Regions from separate parts of the Homo sapiens genome. Here regions 1, 2, 4 and 5 are each linked to region 3. The links are contacts of gene promoters, found by promoter capture Hi-C in blood cells and fetal thymus (Javierre and others, 2016). All regions are on one chromosome and are shown on one strand. Each heading gives the region's core, a stretch centred on a gene start or on the middle of the fragment in contact. The rest is flanking DNA. Distances are from core to core; before and after follow the strand shown. Region 1 overlaps FAM111A (FAM111 trypsin like peptidase A). Region 2 overlaps LOC105369315 (a long non-coding RNA gene). Region 3 holds the start of OR5A2 (olfactory receptor family 5 subfamily A member 2). Region 4 has its middle 7.0 kb from the start of GLYATL1-AS1. Region 5 has its middle 11 kb from the start of FAM111A-DT.

Region 1 (3,304 bases), core at 171-2,670, 270 kb after region 3:
GTACTATAAGCATATAAAACGTCACTGAAGGAGGTAAGAAACAACAGGGTGACTGAAATAACTTTGGGAATGAATGGAATATATAAGACTAAAAGCAGGGAAATTGCACATAGGCACTGTATTCTAGTTGATAAAATTATTTCCCATTGAGGTAGAGGTTAACAATTCTGACACTGCTATATATGTATACTTGGATTAAGCAATTAAGTGAATGTGTGAGGGATGGCAGGCATCACGCTTCCAACTGTTTGGAGTTGGAATTTACAGATAAGCAAGGCATATATACATATGTGTACATATACATATGTGGGTAAATATACACACAAATATTTCTTTGCCCTGTCAGCTGAGGGGGCCTAAAAGAAACAACACGCCACCAGCAATGAGCATATCTAGTGCCTAGATCTTGGTTTCTAATGCCATTCTTCATTAAAAGTCACCAGGTGTTTCACGGTGAGCAGGTCAATGCAAACCTACCCCAACCTACCCCCAAAGACCAAAGAAGCTGAGAGGCCAAAGAAAGAGGCTGACAAATACGGTTTCTCAGAAAGAAACATTTAATAGGAACTTACAAACAGAAGCAATGTTTCTAGCAGCCACTAAATGGCGGCACTCACCCTCCCAAAAGTACCCTTTATATAACAAGCATTTTTGGCAAAACGTGTAGCTAGTCATATCTCAGACTTTCTTGTGAAACACCTGAACACTGGGGAGGTTAGATAAGCATCTTTATGAGGGGTTATCTGTACTACCGGCACTGTTTAAAGACATTGCTGCAGAATATCTTGGTATGCAGGAGTCAAACAGCAGTCATCATGCCAGCTGCTCTTCAAGATGACATCACTCTTACAATGCAACAGGCTGTTTTCCTACACTCGACCCCTCGAAACCAGTCCTTAAAATCTTACATGCCTGCTTCTTCTGTGATAGTCCCTGGACCTAGAGGGAGGGTGCTTGATATTGTATGGCTTTAGTAGTATTGCAATGGAAATGGAAAACAGATTGGGTCCAGTGGAATTCCACAAGAGGGAGATTTGCAGGCTTGGTTGAATCATCTATATAGTCTTCATAATACCATGAAGAAGTAAAACAATGAGAAATACATAACATTAATAATTGGAGTAGTAGAAATCTAAATAAAGTAATATGATGTTTAAGATATCCCTTGCCTTAATAGCCTATAAATATGGGAAGAGTGACTATCATCTTCTGAATTTCAAGACCCATATATTCCGACAGTTTCAGTAATATGAAGATTTTGGAAATTCTAAAAGGTTTTGAGATCATTTCTAATCAAGCATTTAGCTCTTATGTTAGCATTAATTGCAGCCCCAACTTTTGCAACTTATTGACCTGCACATTTTTCTGAGCACTTACTTTCCTTATGTCAGATGTAGGGAATCATGAGATGAACAAGTTTTGGTTCCTGCACTGTAGCAAATGAATTTAGGCAAAGATATGAAAGATGAAAAAACCCTATGACTATATGACTTTTAGTGTCATGAAACTGATTACTATATAATCTTGTTATTCTTCCCATTGCTTGACTTTAAAATAGGGCAAGTTAGCCAGGTGCAGTGGCTCAAACTTGTAATCCCAGCACTTTGGAAGGCCGAGGCAGGTGGATCACGAGGTCAGGAGTTCGAGACCCGCCTGACCAACATGGTGAAACCCTGTCTCTACTAAAAATACAAAAAAAAAAAAAAAAATTTAGCTGGGTGTGGTGGCGTTTGCCTGTAATCCCAGCTGCTCAGGAGACTGAGGCATAAGAATCGCTTGAACCTGGGAGGTGGAAGTTGCAGTGAGCTGAGATCGCACCACTGTACTCCAGCCCAGGCGACAGAGTGAGACTCAGTCTCAAAAAAAAAAAAAAAATTTGGGCAAGTTATAGTCCATCTCATAGTGTTGTTAGGACTAATTTCTTCATGTGCTTAGAAAAATGCCTGGCAGATAGGAAATGGTCAATATTATTATTATTGATAAGATGACCATTTTGGAGTTTAGAAAACCATTTTCAATGCCTATGAAATAACAACTCCATAAGCCATTCCCTTAAATCCAGTAGACTGAATTCTCACAAGTCCTCATCACTCATCATTTCTACATCCTGCTGATTTACAAATACTTCTTCATACCATGGTTTATGTCTTTGCTTAATATCAAGGAGGATGGATTCCATGGTAGAGCCAAACTCAATGATACTACGAGTCTCATTTTGGTAAGTATAAGCAAAGCCAGCAGCATGCATGGCCACCAATGAACCTTTTGAATCAAACACAGGGGAGCCGGAAGCCCCAAAGAAAAATTCAGTGTCATAGGTAATCACATCAGGGTTGTGAACTATTTTCTGGAAACTTCTTTGAGTATACATATGGACATACTCTGGACTTTCTGCTTTTTTAGACTGAACACGTTCCTGACATTTCTTTGCTCGCTGACCCTGAGGGATCACAGCACAAGCATCAATCTGCTTTTTTTCTCCATATGGATGGCCAATAATATGTATCAACCCACTAAGTGGCACAGGAGTAATTCCATTATATAGTTCCATAGGTACTTGTTGTCCATTTTCCTTCAGTTTCAGGACAGCATAGTCAAGCTCTTCATTATGTATCTCAAACCAAGGTTCAACAAAAAAGTAGTTTGTTTCCTTGTCTTTTAGCTCTTCATAACCAAATGTCACCCTTACACATTGACCAATTATGGTTGCCCACTTACTTGGCTCTATTCCGTCTCCCACAATGCTATCTATTACATGCCGACAAGTTAAAATGAACAATCCTTTAAAAACAAAGCAGGTGGCGTAACCCGTAGTTGCACTGTCCCAGAATAAGTACCCAACTGAGTCACTGAGACGTACAAGAAGTTTCACTACTTTAATCGAAGAAGAATTTTTTGTTACTTTCCCAAACGTTGTTCTATGCAATTCAAATAATGTTTCCCCATTTTTTACTTTCATTTTTTTCTTGAAGTTTTCAATGATTTTTTCACTTTCTCTTTTCAAACTGGGGTACTGAGCCACGATTTGTTCTCTCAACACACAGGTGTTTCTTTTCTCTGACTCAGGATTCTGAGAAGCTGCTGCACTGGGGACCATTCTTTTCTCAACCTCAACCTGAAAGTATCTGCCTTCTAATTCATCAACTGGCTGGGTGCTTTCTAAAATGGTGTCATTGTTTTCAATGAGTTTCCAATCATCATTCTCCAGAAAGGAAAGAAATCTGCCATCCTTGCACAGTGCATCCTTGATGGTTTCTCCTTTGAAAGCATAAACACAGAGTTTGCGCCCCTTTTTGTGAAGCTT
Region 2 (3,299 bases), core at 112-2,611, 320 kb after region 3:
TCCCACTGCAACTGGAATCAGTGACAGAGTAGGGATGCTCAGGGAATCTGTTGGGCCACCAAAGAAAACTCACTTCTAGCTAATGCTTATCTGGGGCTATGGAAGTTGTCTAACATCCCTGGGGACAGAGTGTTTGCCCTGAAAAGGAACATTCCCTTGGCACAAAGTATCCTGTTGGCTGGATTTTATTATAAATGTGACAAGAATGCTTTTGGCCAGTAACTGGTGGTTGGGTCAGTTTGTGTTTTGTAAACCCATAAAGAGGAAAAGGCTCTCATGTGGTTGGGAGAGGTGGGAATGGATCATGCACTAAGGTCAGGTCTGGTGAAGTTAGGGAATAAGGCCAGTGTTTACGAAGAGTGATTCCTTCATGAACCCCTAAAAGATGCTCTGGAACACTACCAGTAGGATGATGTCTGTATGTAGAGGTGCAGATGACATGTTCTCGGAATACAGAGGAAGGCACCACTGCCTCTACCTTGAGAGTATATCACAGAGAAAGATTTATATTTGGACTAGATGGCTGAGAGATGAGTAGGAGTTTGATAGAAGAGAGCATGGAAACTGGCTGTACAACGGCAGAAAGGGCAGGAAAGGCTGAGGAGAATTGGCCTCTGGGGGTGGGTTATAGATATGGGCCTGGGCACCACATTCTGGAGCTTGCAATGGGGTATGTAAAAGCTTAGATGGGATGGTCTTTTCCTCTCCTCCCATGGGTTCATAGTTGGCCCACCTCACTCACTGCTGCAAACAAGCTGCCCCCATTTGAGAGAGAGCTGGAGTGGGGTCTCTAAGCCTCCAGCAACCACTTAGGAGCTAGCCTTGATGCCCCAGCAGCTAACCTCATGGAGACCCCATAGTCCATCCTATCTTGGGAAGACAATGCAGGCATGGGGAAGGTAACATTCCCCTCCAGACTCCAGAGGCTCCAAGGAGCCTCTCTCTCTCTTCAAGAAAAGAAATAGTCACTGAGCCACGGGTGGAGGTGAACATGGTTTGGGACCAACAGGCGGCTGGATGGTTTCACCTCCACGGTCATACAATGGTACTGGGAGATGAATGGGGGTAGGGCGATCTAGAATTAGTTCAACCTCAACTTCCAGTGGGGTGGTGCTTGGAGTTGACTCATTGTGGCCCCATTTAATATTCGCAGTCACCAGTTGGGGTAGGTGGGACTGTTGCTCCCATTTCACAGATCAGGACAGGATAGTTTGCTAGAGGTCACAGGACTAGTTGGGGAAAGGAAAGGGTGTCAGGTAGGATTTTAACCTTAGAGCCTCACGTTTTCTTAGGCTCTTTCAGGGGGACCTTGGGCAAATTCCGTTCTCTCTTGGTGGGGGGGGGTCTCCATTCCTTATTTGTAAATTAAGGAGTTCTTCCAGTTTGTGATTCTCTGTACTTTAACTTGGATAGGTTTTGTAAAATGGGGATTATGGGAACCCCACTATATTTAAGTAGAGTAGGTCTGGGGTGAGGCCCAGTAATCTGCAGCTTTGAACAAACCTCGGCATCCACAAAACTGGCTGAGATACTCAGGGAAAGTTTATGATGCATGAAAATCTTATTGCGAGCTGTCCAAAACACATAACACTGAGCTCCATCTGCAGAGATCCTGTTTTGATACCCTTGGTTGGACTGTGGCTGGGTAATTTGCATTTGTCAGAAGTGAGGCCAGTCACCTGGTCAACAACCCCTCCTGTCGCTCTGTGACCCTCCCCGGGCGTCCGCGGTGCTTCTTTACTTGCATCTTGTGGGAATGACATCTGCGCAGGCAGCCCCTTTTTAGCACCGCTCCTCGCACGCGAGCCCAGCCCTTAAAAACCCAGCCCAGCCCCGGGTTTGCAGATACTCAGGGCAGGGGAAGGCGCCTTTCCGCATTTGGTGTAGTCCCGCATGCTGCCATTTGATGTCGCGGGAGAACGCGCCTACAGGGATAGGGCGGGGCAAGGAGGCGAGGAAGGAAAAAAAGCGACAAGTGAAGACTGACATCCATTAAGGTCAATGGTAGCTCAATCTTCGGTTCTCTGACTCCCAAGCTTCCCATTCTCTTAGGAGGCTGCATTTGTGGCGCTAAAAAAAGGGATGGGCGTGGGAGATTCCAGGACATGTGCTCGCTGAAGATACAACTGTTAGTCCAAGGTAACTCCCACTCGTAGTGGCTCAACCCTCTTTGTCAATTCACCTTCCTCTAAGTTAACTATGGCTGCTCCACCTGTCTTTAGGGAAACCTACTCCCCATCGCGCTGGGTATTTTGGATTTTTTAAAAGCGTCGCGGGGTAAAGTCAGTGTTGTGCTTTTCCTTTTCTCAGCAGGTAAGTATTTCTGGCGCTGACAGCGGAGAGCTGCCGGGCGGGAATAGGGGTGAAGAGAGAATAGGGAGAGAGATAACAGGTGTGAAGCGTCCCTCAATGCCAGGCATCCTGCTTTGGCACCTTCAGTAAGTTTGTCTGAATCATCTTTCTATTGAATTCACTTTCTGTTTCACAGATTAGGAAACCTCAACTAAGTGGCCCAAGGACAGTCCTTGGATAATTTTAACTTGTGTCAGAAACCAAAGCCTAAGGTCTTTTATTTTGCAGAGGCTGCTTTGGCAGGATTTCAATGCATGCAGGTCCTGCGAATCACTGCTCCTCACTCACTGATCCATCCCGCTGTCCACACATTCATTCACCCATTCATTTCTTAGGGGCTCATCTGCAAGGCGTGGGGCTGGATGATACTAAAAATACAAAAGGGACTCTGATGTAAAGTAGAAGAGATTTTTTAAAAAGATTTACCCAGAATTCCGGTGCTCAGCATGGTTTCGATTTTTCCCCCCAACATACTATTGATACCTGTTATGTTCCACATAATATGATGGATTCTGAAGATACAGAGATGGGTGAGACCTATCCTTGCCTTTCAGAAGCTCGTTGTCATAGGCAAGAGTAATCTCTGAGGTTAAATTTTAGATATCTATTTTTTAACAAATTGAGCATCAACTCTATATATTCTACTGTAATTAATGTACTAAATAATTAAATATTACACACAATTTCTTATTTTTTAGATGAAGATGAATCTAAATGGTGGTTCAAGTATGTCCTTTGTTGATCCTAGTGGACCATCTTGGGTGCTTCAGACTGAAACTCTACCCTCCTGTTATGTGCTTGGCTCTATTCCTTCTTTCTGCAGCTCTCTGTCAAATGCCAGGCTTTGAGGGAGACCAGTCCTGACCCCTTCCTGTTTTCTCTCCTTTTTACCTGCTCCTATCTGAGGCCTCTTTTCCTATTTATTTGTTGTTCTTTCTCCCTCCATC
Region 3 (3,444 bases), core at 347-2,846:
GCTGGAGTGCAGTGGCGCGATCTCGGCTCACTGCAAGCTCTGCCTCCCGGGTTCATGCCATTCTCCTGCCTCAGCCTCCTGAGTAGCTGGGACTACAGGTGCCCGCCACCACGCCTGGCTAATTTTTTTTTTGTTTGTATTTTTAGTAGAGACGGGGTTTCACCGTGTTAACTAGGATAGTCTCAATTTCCTGACCTCGTGATCTGCCCGCCTCGGCCTCCCAAAGTGCTGGGATTACAGGCATGAGCCACCGCGCCCGGCCCTTATCAGCCTTTTCTAATCCTAGAAAAATGTATCCTTCATAACTGTGAGATCTACCTTTTAAATTTCCCAGATCTTAACTCAGTATCAAACTCTTTCATAGTTAGTTGGGGTTTACTCTTTCAGCATCAGAATTTCCTAGGACAGTTTATCTTCAAACTTAGATAAGAATGTTTCTTTTGAGGATGGACTTCCTTGCCTTTTCATGTTCACAGTTGATTCTTGAAGACATTTACCTCCGTTTCTGTCAACAGTCTTAGTTGCTAAATTTCTTCCCTAAATTAAGCCTGTTACCTTGTAAGTCAAGAGTCTCAGTAATTATACCCCTTTATATAGAAGACATTTCTCTCATTTAATTTTTTTTCTTTTGAGACTGAGGATTGCTGACTTAGTCTCCATGAAATAGATGAATTCATTTTTTATAAACTTTATTTCTGAAGAAAACATTTAAAAAAACAGGAAATCAATGTTTTGAAACATCAGACTTTCAGGGCTGGAGGAATTCTTGGAGAGTGAGCCCAATTCACTCAGGCTGGAGGGGTTAATTGACTTGCCCACAGTGACTCATCCAGGTAGTGGCATTGCTGGTAGTAGCACCCAAAATATTAAAAAGAGAAAAGAAGAGCCCCATCAAGCCCTTCATCCCATCCAGCCTCATTAAAAAAAATAAAGAGAAAAGAAATCTTTTCATCGTGATGCAAATAAGTCACAATAAAAAGATAGAAAGGAAAGACATATTTTTGGCCATGACCCAAGAAACAGAGTTAATGACATCATTAGTTTACATTCATTGAGTGATTTCTGTTTGTTAGGCACTGTGCTAAGCCTTTCTTATTCACAGCTTATTTAATTATCACAACTCTGTTGAGGTAGGTATTCTTGTTACACCAGTTTTACAAATGAGGGAGTTGATAAGTTTAAGACATTAAACAACATTGAACATGTTTATATTGATAAAAGGGCAGAGCCAGAATTTAAACCCAATTCTCAGAGTTGGAAACATGTGTTTCTAACCAGTATATTTCAGCACAAGGCTTGGTGTGTTTATGTGTGATTTACTTCTGATGAAATTTCTTTTAAGCAAAAGGCATCTACTAACCCAGCAGGGAGTCTTCCTGGACTCAAATCAGGGAAAGCTCAGAGAAGAATAGGTAGGGGGATGGAAAGAGGCTCCCGTGATGAGCGGTTGGCTCTTTTCGCCACCACTCCAGGGAACAATTAGTGCTCAGAAATGTTTAGCTCTAATGATTGCTGGGCTTTTTATGTTGGACCCTGGAGTGAGTGGCAGAGGGCAGCCTCTTGGGGAAAGAATGTGGCTACCTCTGCCCATTAAAATAATGAACTCCCACAGCCCATTTATTTGGAAGACTTGTTAACAAAGGAGCGGAGATTCCAGAAGCATGGTTTACTATTTACATGAGGCCAAAGCATAAGAAATTGATGGAACGAGAAACCAGCCATGGAGCAGTGGGAAATGCAGATGATCTGGTTTGCAAAAGATGTTATGGCAACAAAGCAATCAATATTTCTTCTCTTGTAGCACAAGATTGCAGGACCCTTCTGCCCAATGCAATCCAGTAAGTCCAGCTCATTCCCTCCTACCTCATCCATTCAGCAGCAAATCACAACTATGCATTTACAGCCTATTCTACCTTTTATTTGTAAAATGGGGCGAGAAACGCTGCCACTTCTTGAGTCTATTAGGAGAATTAAATGGGTTTATAAAAATCAAGTCTTTCAAACAGTACCTCGCACACAATAAGTACTAAATAAGTGTTTGATTATATTATTATATTATGATCGTTATATGATTATTGTTTGTGATTAATTATATATTATGTGTTTTGTTCTTATAATAGTAACACACCAAATATAGTAAGTCATAGGCCAAACCCTTCTGGTAAACTCTGAGGATAAGTGGTGGAAAAAAATCTATTTATTCAGCAAAATATTTAGTGGGCACCTATGTCCCAGGCCCTGTTCTTTGTACTTATGATAAAACTGTCTTTGCAAAATTATAACTGAGGAAATTATGACAGTCAAAGAAATCATATCTACCTGACTCCATCTTGCTTCTAATCTTTAAGCTGTCTTTGTCCATTCTTGGGCATAAGCTGAAGTAACTTTGGGAAGGAATTCAGTTCATGGTTTGACTCTGAAACAAAATTAATAGCAGCTCTTTCCTGAAGAGACCCCCCTTTTGCCTAGGGACCAGTCTGTCTTTGCAGGACTAACAAATTAGCTGCAAGATTAGAAATTACTGTTTAGGGGTCATGCAGCCTCTGACTCCAAGAGTATAAACCTTCCCAAATTGGCCCCGGGGATAACATCACTACTGTAAAACCTAAGATCAGTGCTTGAGATATTTTGCAGACCCTGCACTAGATGGATCAGCTGACACCACCCAGACCCGTTAACTGGCTCAACCAGTTCTGCCATCCCACCCAGGAACAGAAGACAGCAAGAAAAACTCACTTCGACCCATTTGATTCCATCTCCAGCCTAACCAATCAGCATTCCCCACTTCCCAAGCCCCTACTCGCCAAATTATCTTTAAAAACTCTGATCCCTGATGCTCAGGGAGACTAATTTGAGTAATAATAAAACTCCAGTCCTCCTGCACAACCAGCTCTGCCTGAATTACTCTTTCTCCATTGCAATTCCCCTGTCTTGATAAATGAGCTCTGTCTAGGCAGTGGGCAAGGTGAACCCATTGGGTGGTTACAAGGATAGATCAGGAAACAGAATGGGCAAAACTCCCTGCCTGTCTTTGAGTAACTTACATTCTGGTAGGGAAGATTTCACCAAGATAAGAGATACCAAATTCCTCTTACTTCCTTTTTGATAGGATTAAATAGATTGATGTTTTAGTGAAGATCAATCTAGGCTCGTCTTGGTTTTGACTGCTTGACCAGTGATTTGAGGGGAGATTAGAAATTTGTAAAAAACACAAAGCTAGGAGCAGTTTTTAATATGATAAGTGACACAGAACCACAGTTACCATTGGGTGCAAACATGCATGGGCAAACAAATTCCATACAAATAATAAAATACAGCAACCTTAATTTCACCACTGAGTCTTTCTCAGGGCATTTCTGCCTCTTTATACGCATTTGTATTTCCTAATTTTTAAAAAAAATTTCCTTTTTTTTTTGAGACAGGGTCTCACTCTGTCATCCAGGC
Region 4 (3,400 bases), core at 543-3,042, 360 kb after region 3:
CCTTACCAGTATAGAAAGCATTATTTGCCTACCACATTCTTGAATTCTCCTTACATAGCATCAAATGCAGCTATCCTGTTCCCCAAATATGTTTTCCTGTGTACATGACTTTACTCAGGCCATTCCTTCATCCTTGATACACTAGTGAAATGTTATTCATTCTTTTTAAAAAATAAATTAGTTTTAGACATACCAAATGCATAATTAATGTACATAATTAGTGTATACAACTTGATGAATGTGAAGATACATGATCACCACATTCTATGACATCGACCTATCTATCACCTCCCAAAGTCTCTTCCTGCCCTCTTATTTATTATTTTTGTAATAAGAACACAACATAAAATCTATCATTTTAGCAAGAATTTGAGTGCACAATAGTGTTAACTATTGGCACTCATGCTGTTCAGATCCCTACAACTTATTCACCTTGTGTAAGGAAACTTTGTATCCCTTGACTAACACTTCCATTTTTCTCTCTTCCCAGCCCAGCAACCACTTCTACATCTATGAGTTTGACAATTTTAGATTTATTTTTCATTAATAAATCATTTCTCATATGATGCTGCTGTAGTTTCCTTAGTCTGAATTAAGTATTCTTCTCTCTGTACTCTAAAATCACTTGTTTATATCTCAATTTAGTATTATCATTTTGCATATTTTGAGCAAAATAGTGTGGGTCAAAAACCAGTCTCTGTAGTCTGACTGCCTAGGTTAAGATCCTTGCTTTGAAGTCCGTTACTTCTGCAACTATAAGCAAGTTGAGCTTCAGTTTCTTCTTTTGTAAAATAAGTATGATAATAACTACTGCACAGTTCTATTAACTGTTAAATGGGATAATCCATATGATGGGACACAATTCCAGGCACACAGTGTTTCCTCAGAAAACATTAGCTAATTATTTTTGCCTGTCTATACTTTCCATGATTTTAAGTGTCTATATTATTTGTTAGTCATCTTGTTGTCTTAAGACACGTTTAGCATTATTAACTCATACTCTATCATTATGCTTTCCACAAGCACTTATGTGTATGAGCTACCCAAATATATTTTAAACTACCTAAGAGAAAGGCTTATAACGACCATTGTTTAAGAACTTATCTCCAAGAACCTCATATGGCACTATGGTTAGACTATCACTCCTCTGAGGAGTTGTAAAAAAGTAGATATACCTTTGAAACTTCAGGTCTAGTCCTCGGGTCATCTTTTGTGGCACTAAGTGACTTGTTTTCTTCAGTCTTCATGGAATTCATGATGAATTCGAAGAGAATATAACTAATATTTACTAGTGGATAAGATGGAGAAACAAGGATTGAGTTCATTCTGCCACATGAAATGTCTAAAAAAAACCCAAAAAGGAAAGATCTGTGAAATAACAACTCTCAATCATTGGACATCAGGCTGTGTGGGACCTCATCTCTGATATCTGAGAAGAAAATCATATGAGGTAAGCCCTGTGGCTATTTAGGTTACTGTATGGAGTTTCCAAGGCATATCTTAGGCAAGAGAACAGGCAGAGTCTAGCAGTTTCCCTGAGTTGAGAAGACAAGCTTGGAGTTTTGGGAGGCCAGGCTGACTGGAGCTTGTATGGCAGAGTACTAGGGAGAAGAGAGCCACAGGAGCACATAGTATCAGAGATCTGCAGTGGGTATCCCTTGAGATTTCAGCTTGGTCAATGCATGAGTGGAATAAAGCTGTTGAAAAGGAACAGGAAAAAGAAGTACCCAAAAGGAGCAGATGTAACAATTTCTGAGGCTCATACAGGACAGGGAATAGATTCAGTTCACAAAAATCTGACTAGAAAATTTCACAATTCATGAAATATCAGAGAGACTACTCTGAAAGGTATTTCTTCCACAGTGGGACAAAATTAGCCCTAGTTCTGCTCCCACCTAACAAATAAAAGCAAACTTTGAAATTATAAAATGGTTTCCATGTAAAATATCAAGGTACTAAAATAAAGTTCAAGAATATTGATGGGAAGGTAAAAATTTCTGGCACCCAAAGTTGTGAAATTAACAAAGCTTGATATCTAATAAAACAATCAGCAAGCATTTAAGAAGTGGATAAATATGACCCATAATGACTAGGAACATCAGTGAATAGAGACAGATCCAGAAGTGAGAGAGATGATGGAACTAGTAGTCAGAAATATTAAAAGTCATTACCTTGAATTTCTGGCCAAAATGGAAGAACAGGGACTGGATTTCCCCCTAGTCTGAAAGCAAAACAAAACAAAAATGGGCAAAATATATGAAACAACGCTTTGCGAGGAACTGGACATCATGCAATTAAGGATAGTGACAACTGAGATGCATCCTACAATCCACGCTAGCAGACTAACTTGAAGGATTCCAGGCCAGTGTCGCAAGGAAGGGCAGCAAGACAAAGCCAGTTGGAATTCTAGATTTGAGGAGACAAAGCGGAGAGACCAGGGTGGCAAGAGGTCACGGGCCACAGACCCTGGTGGGAGACCTGCACAGAGAGGGAACTCCGGATATATGAAGAGGGTTCCCCTAAAGCATTCAGCTGCGTACTGATCAGAGCAGCAGCTGAGAAAACTTCCCAAGGCCAGGAAAGAACCACCCTAAAACTGTCATAGTCTAACTTTCCTCCAACCCTCTCCCTGTAACCCTTTTGGGGATCCCCGTTTTCTCATTTCTAGATTAAGGTCTTTGGCTCAGATGAAACTTTTATTGTTCGTGTGAATTGGTTCCTCTGAGCTTTTTAAAAAGGATTCCAGATCCCACCCTCACAGACTCTGATTCAGTATGTCGGGGTGTGGCTATGGAATCTGCATTTTTACCTGCCTCACTCCACAACCCCTGCCTCAAACTCGCACCAAGTTCTTTGAACAGCTGCCTCTGTCACCGCAGGATGACCTCAATGCTTTCCTAAAGCCCCAGAACCAATTAAGGTAACCTGTGCTTGAAGCTGTGCTTGCTTACAGAAACAGAGACTGGATGTCAGTAACCACCGTGCTACAAGATGGGAAACGAACTTAGAAGCGCTACCCTAACCTGAATCCTCAATTGCTAATTACCATACCTCAATCTGTGCCTACGGGAGAAATGCAGCTTGCTAGGCACATGTAGTGTTGGGCGGCAACAGCAAATAGGAGACTGCCACACTCAGCTGGTTCTGGAAAGCCCCATCTCTTTCCAGGAATCCTTGCTTTCCAACTACGTGCCCTAAAAGACCTTAAGGAGCACCCCCACACTACACCCCAGGCACTTTGAGCAGGAGCTCTCCTACTCCATTCCTTGATCAGTGAATAGTTTCTGCTCTGCTTAACCGAACCTGGTCTCCTTCTACGGGCGAGAAAGGCACCGGGTAGGGAAAGGACCCACCAGGGTCAAACGACCCTCTTGAGATTCAGGAACACCCAGATGATCTC
Region 5 (3,264 bases), core at 561-3,060, 290 kb after region 3:
TCCAAAGAGACTTTACCATTAATTTTTGCAAGCAGCTGGGTGGGAGTCACTTGTAGTCCTAGATTACATTAACCTAATTTAGATTGAGGTGATTTCAAATTGACTTGTGTCCCTGTGAAGGCTGAGATATTTCTGGAACATTTTTATTCCTTGGGTACAACAACTTTTTACCCATCCAAAATCCTGTGGTGTTTATTAGGTTTCCTACTAGCTGACAGGCTTTAAACTCTGACTTTTTCCTCCCTCAGCTTCACGATTCGAACTCAAATGTCTGGTCAGCTACTCAGCCATCTCTTCCAAGCTGTCAGGTTTCCCTAAGGTAAGAGCCATACTGATATGGTTTGGCTCTGTGTCCCCACCCAAATCTCATCTTGAATTTTAATCCCAATAACCCCCAAGTGTCAAGGGGGGAATCTGGTGGGAGGTGATTGGATCATGGGGACAGTTTTGCCCATGCTGTTCTCATGATAGTGAGTTCTCATAAGATATGATGGTTTTATAAGGGGCTATTCCCACTACACTTTTATCTCTCCTGCCACCCTGTGAAGAAGGACATATTTTCTTCCCCTAATTCCATGATTGTAAGTTTCCTGAGGCCCCCCAGCCATGTGGAACTGTGAGTGAATTAAACCTCTTTCCTTTATAAATTACCCAGTTTTGGGTATTTCTTTGTAGCAGTGTAAAAACAGATTAATACAGGAAATTGGTACCAGGAGTTTGGGGCACTGCCACAAAGATACTTAAAAATGTGGAAACCACTTCGGAACTGGGTAACAGGAAGAAGTTGGGACAGTTTGGAGGGCTCAGAAGACAGGAAGATGTGGGAAAGTGTGGAACTTCCTAGAGACTTGCTGAATGGTTTTGACCAAGATGCTGAGAGTGATATGGACAACGAAGTACAGGCTGAGGTGTTCTTATATGGAGATGAGGAACTTATTTGAAACTGGAGCAAATGTCACTCTTGCTATGCTTTAGCAAAGAGACTGGAGGCATTTTACCCCTGACCTAGAGATCGGTGGAACTTTGAACTTTTATTAGTCCATTTTCATACTGCTATGAAGAAGTACCTGAGATTGAGTAATTTATAAAGAAAAAGAGGTTTAATGTACTCACAGTTCCACATGGCAGAGGAGGCCTCACAATCATGGTGGAAGGTGAAGGAGGAGGAAAGCCGTGTCTTACATGATGGCAGTCAACAGAGCATGTGCAGGGGAACTGCCCTTTATAAAACCATCAGGTCTTGTGAGACTTATTCACTATCACAAGAACAGCACAGGAAAAACCCACCCCCATGATTCAATTACCTCCCACTGGGTCCCTCCCAGGACATATGGGGATTATGGGAGCTACAATTCAAGATGAGATTTGGGTGGGGACAGAGCCACACCATATAATTCCACCCCTGGTCCCTCCCAAATCTCATGTCCTTACAATTCGAAACACAATCATCCCCTTCCAACCGTCTCCCAAAGTCTTAACTAATTGCAGCATTAATACAAAAGTCCAAATCCAGAGTCTCATCTGAGACAAGGCAAGTCCCTTCCACCTATGAGCCTGTAAAATCAAAAGCAAGTCAGTTACTTCCTAGATATAATGGGGGTAGAGGCTTTGGGTAAATATACCCATTCCAAATGGGATAAATTGCCAAAACAAAAGGGCCACAGCCCCCATGCAAGTCCAAAATCCAGCAGGGCAGTCAAATCTTAAAGCTCCAAAATAAGCTTTGACTATATGCCTCACATCCAGGTCACACTGATGCAAGAGGTGGGTTCCCATGGTCCTGGGCAGCTCTGCCCCTGTGGCTTTGCAGGGTACAGCCCACTCCCCCTTCCCCGGCTGCTTTCATGAGCTGGCATGAAAATGGACATTGGGCAAACTCACAGTCTGGCATGAAGCTTTTCCAGGAGCATGGTGCAAGCTGTTGGTGGATTTACCATTCTGGCGTTTGGAGGATGGTGGCCCTCTTCTCACAGCTACACTAGGCAGTGTCTCGGGGGGACTCTCTGTGGGGGCTACCACCTCACATTTCCCTTCTGCACTGCCCTAGCAGAGGTTCTCCATGAGGGCTCCACCCCTGCAGCAAACTTCTGCCTGGATATCCAGGCGTTTCCATACATCCTGTGAAATCTAGGTGGAGGTTCCCAAACCTCAATTCTTTACTTCTGTTCACCTGCAGGCCCAACACCATGTGTAAGGCACCAAGGCTTGGGGCTTGCACCCTCTGAGTCAATGGCCTGAGCTATATCTTGGCCCCTTTTAGCCACAGCTGGGACACAGGGCACCAAGTTCTAAGACTGCACAAAGCAGCAAGACCTGGGGTTTAGCCCATGAAACCACTTTTTCCTTCTAGGCCTCTGGGCCTGTGATGGGAGGGGCTGTCATGCAGACCTCTGGCATGCTCTGGAGACATTTTCCCCATTGTCTTGGTGATTAACATTTGGCTCCTTGTTACTTATGCAGATTTCTGCAGCTGGCTTAAATTTACCCTCAGAAAATGAGGTTTTATCTTCTATCACATCGACGGGCTGCAAATTTTCTGAACTTTTATGATCTGCTTCCCTTTTAAACATAAGTTCCAATTCCAAATGATATCTTTGTGAATGACTAAAACTGAATGCTTTTAAGAGTACCCAAGTCACATCTTGAATGCTTTGGTGCTTAGAAATTTCTTCTTCCAGATACCCTAAATCATCTCTCTCAAGTTCAAAGTTCCACAGATCTCTAGGGTGGGGCAAAATGCCACCAGCCTCTTTGCTAAAGCATAGCAAGAATGACCTTTGCCCCAGTGCCCAAGTTCCTCATCTCTGTCTGAGACCATGTCAGCCTGGAATTTATTGTCGGTATCACTATCACATTTTGGGCAAAGGCATTCGACAAGTCTCTATGAAGTTCCAAACTTTCCCACATTTTCCTGTCTTCTTCTGAGCCCCCTAACCTTTTCCAACCTCTGCCTGTTACCCAGTTCCAAAGTTGCTTCCACATTTTCAGGTATGTTTACAGCAGCACCCCACTCTCTGTGATACCAATTTACTGTATTAGTCCATTTTCATACTACTATGAAGAAATACCTGAGACTGGGTAATTTATAAAGAAAAAGGGGTTTAATGGACTCAGAGTTCTACATGGGTGGGGAGGACTCACAATCATGGTGGAAGATGAAAGAGGAGCAAAGGCACATCTTACATGGCAGCAGGCAAGAGGGAGCATGTGTAGGGGAACTCTCCTATATAACTATCAGATCTTGTGAGACTTATTCACTATTGC

What was found. The method cuts DNA at HindIII sites, captures the fragments that hold promoters and counts their contacts. A CHiCAGO score of 5 or more calls a contact.
Region 1: a contact is called between a fragment that was not itself captured here and the fragment with the promoter of OR5A2 in region 3, in 7 of 17 cell types (monocytes, M1 macrophages, naive B cells and 4 more). The highest score is 17.1, in monocytes.
Region 2: a contact is called between a fragment that was not itself captured here and the fragment with the promoter of OR5A2 in region 3, in 1 of 17 cell types (M1 macrophages). The highest score is 5.5, in M1 macrophages.
Region 4: a contact is called between a fragment that was not itself captured here and the fragment with the promoter of OR5A2 in region 3, in 1 of 17 cell types (M1 macrophages). The highest score is 5.0, in M1 macrophages.
Region 5: a contact is called between a fragment that was not itself captured here and the fragment with the promoter of OR5A2 in region 3, in 4 of 17 cell types (M1 macrophages, monocytes, naive B cells and 1 more). The highest score is 10.6, in M1 macrophages.

What each region holds. Positions count from the first base shown.
Region 1 is chr11:59,152,275-59,155,578 of GRCh38, reverse strand. FAM111A (FAM111 trypsin like peptidase A) reads right to left here. Exons shown (of 6, transcript NM_001312909.2): 6 at 540-3,304. The coding sequence ends at 2,075. Among named protein-coding and RNA genes, the nearest start is that of FAM111A, 11 kb to the right of the region's middle. RefSeq lists an enhancer at 2,867-2,996. The HindIII fragment of the contact is 3,767 bases long and covers 1-3,303 here.
Region 2 is chr11:59,101,005-59,104,303 of GRCh38, reverse strand. LOC105369315 (a long non-coding RNA gene) reads left to right here. Exons shown (of 3, transcript XR_007062680.1): 1 at 1-3,299. Among named protein-coding and RNA genes, the nearest start is that of FAM111B, 4.6 kb to the left of the region's middle. RefSeq lists enhancers at 1,654-1,773, 1,284-1,784. The HindIII fragment of the contact is 1,355 bases long and covers 684-2,038 here.
Region 3 is chr11:59,424,565-59,428,008 of GRCh38, reverse strand. It overlaps OR5A2 (olfactory receptor family 5 subfamily A member 2), which reads left to right and starts at 1,596. Exons shown (of 2, transcript NM_001001954.2): 1 at 1,596-1,838. The HindIII fragment of the contact is 12,260 bases long and covers 1-3,444 here.
Region 4 is chr11:59,063,749-59,067,148 of GRCh38, reverse strand. No RefSeq gene overlaps it. Among named protein-coding and RNA genes, the nearest start is that of GLYATL1-AS1, 7.0 kb to the right of the region's middle. The HindIII fragment of the contact is 474 bases long and covers 1,556-2,029 here.
Region 5 is chr11:59,130,634-59,133,897 of GRCh38, reverse strand. No RefSeq gene overlaps it. Among named protein-coding and RNA genes, the nearest start is that of FAM111A-DT, 11 kb to the left of the region's middle. The HindIII fragment of the contact is 174 bases long and covers 1,724-1,897 here.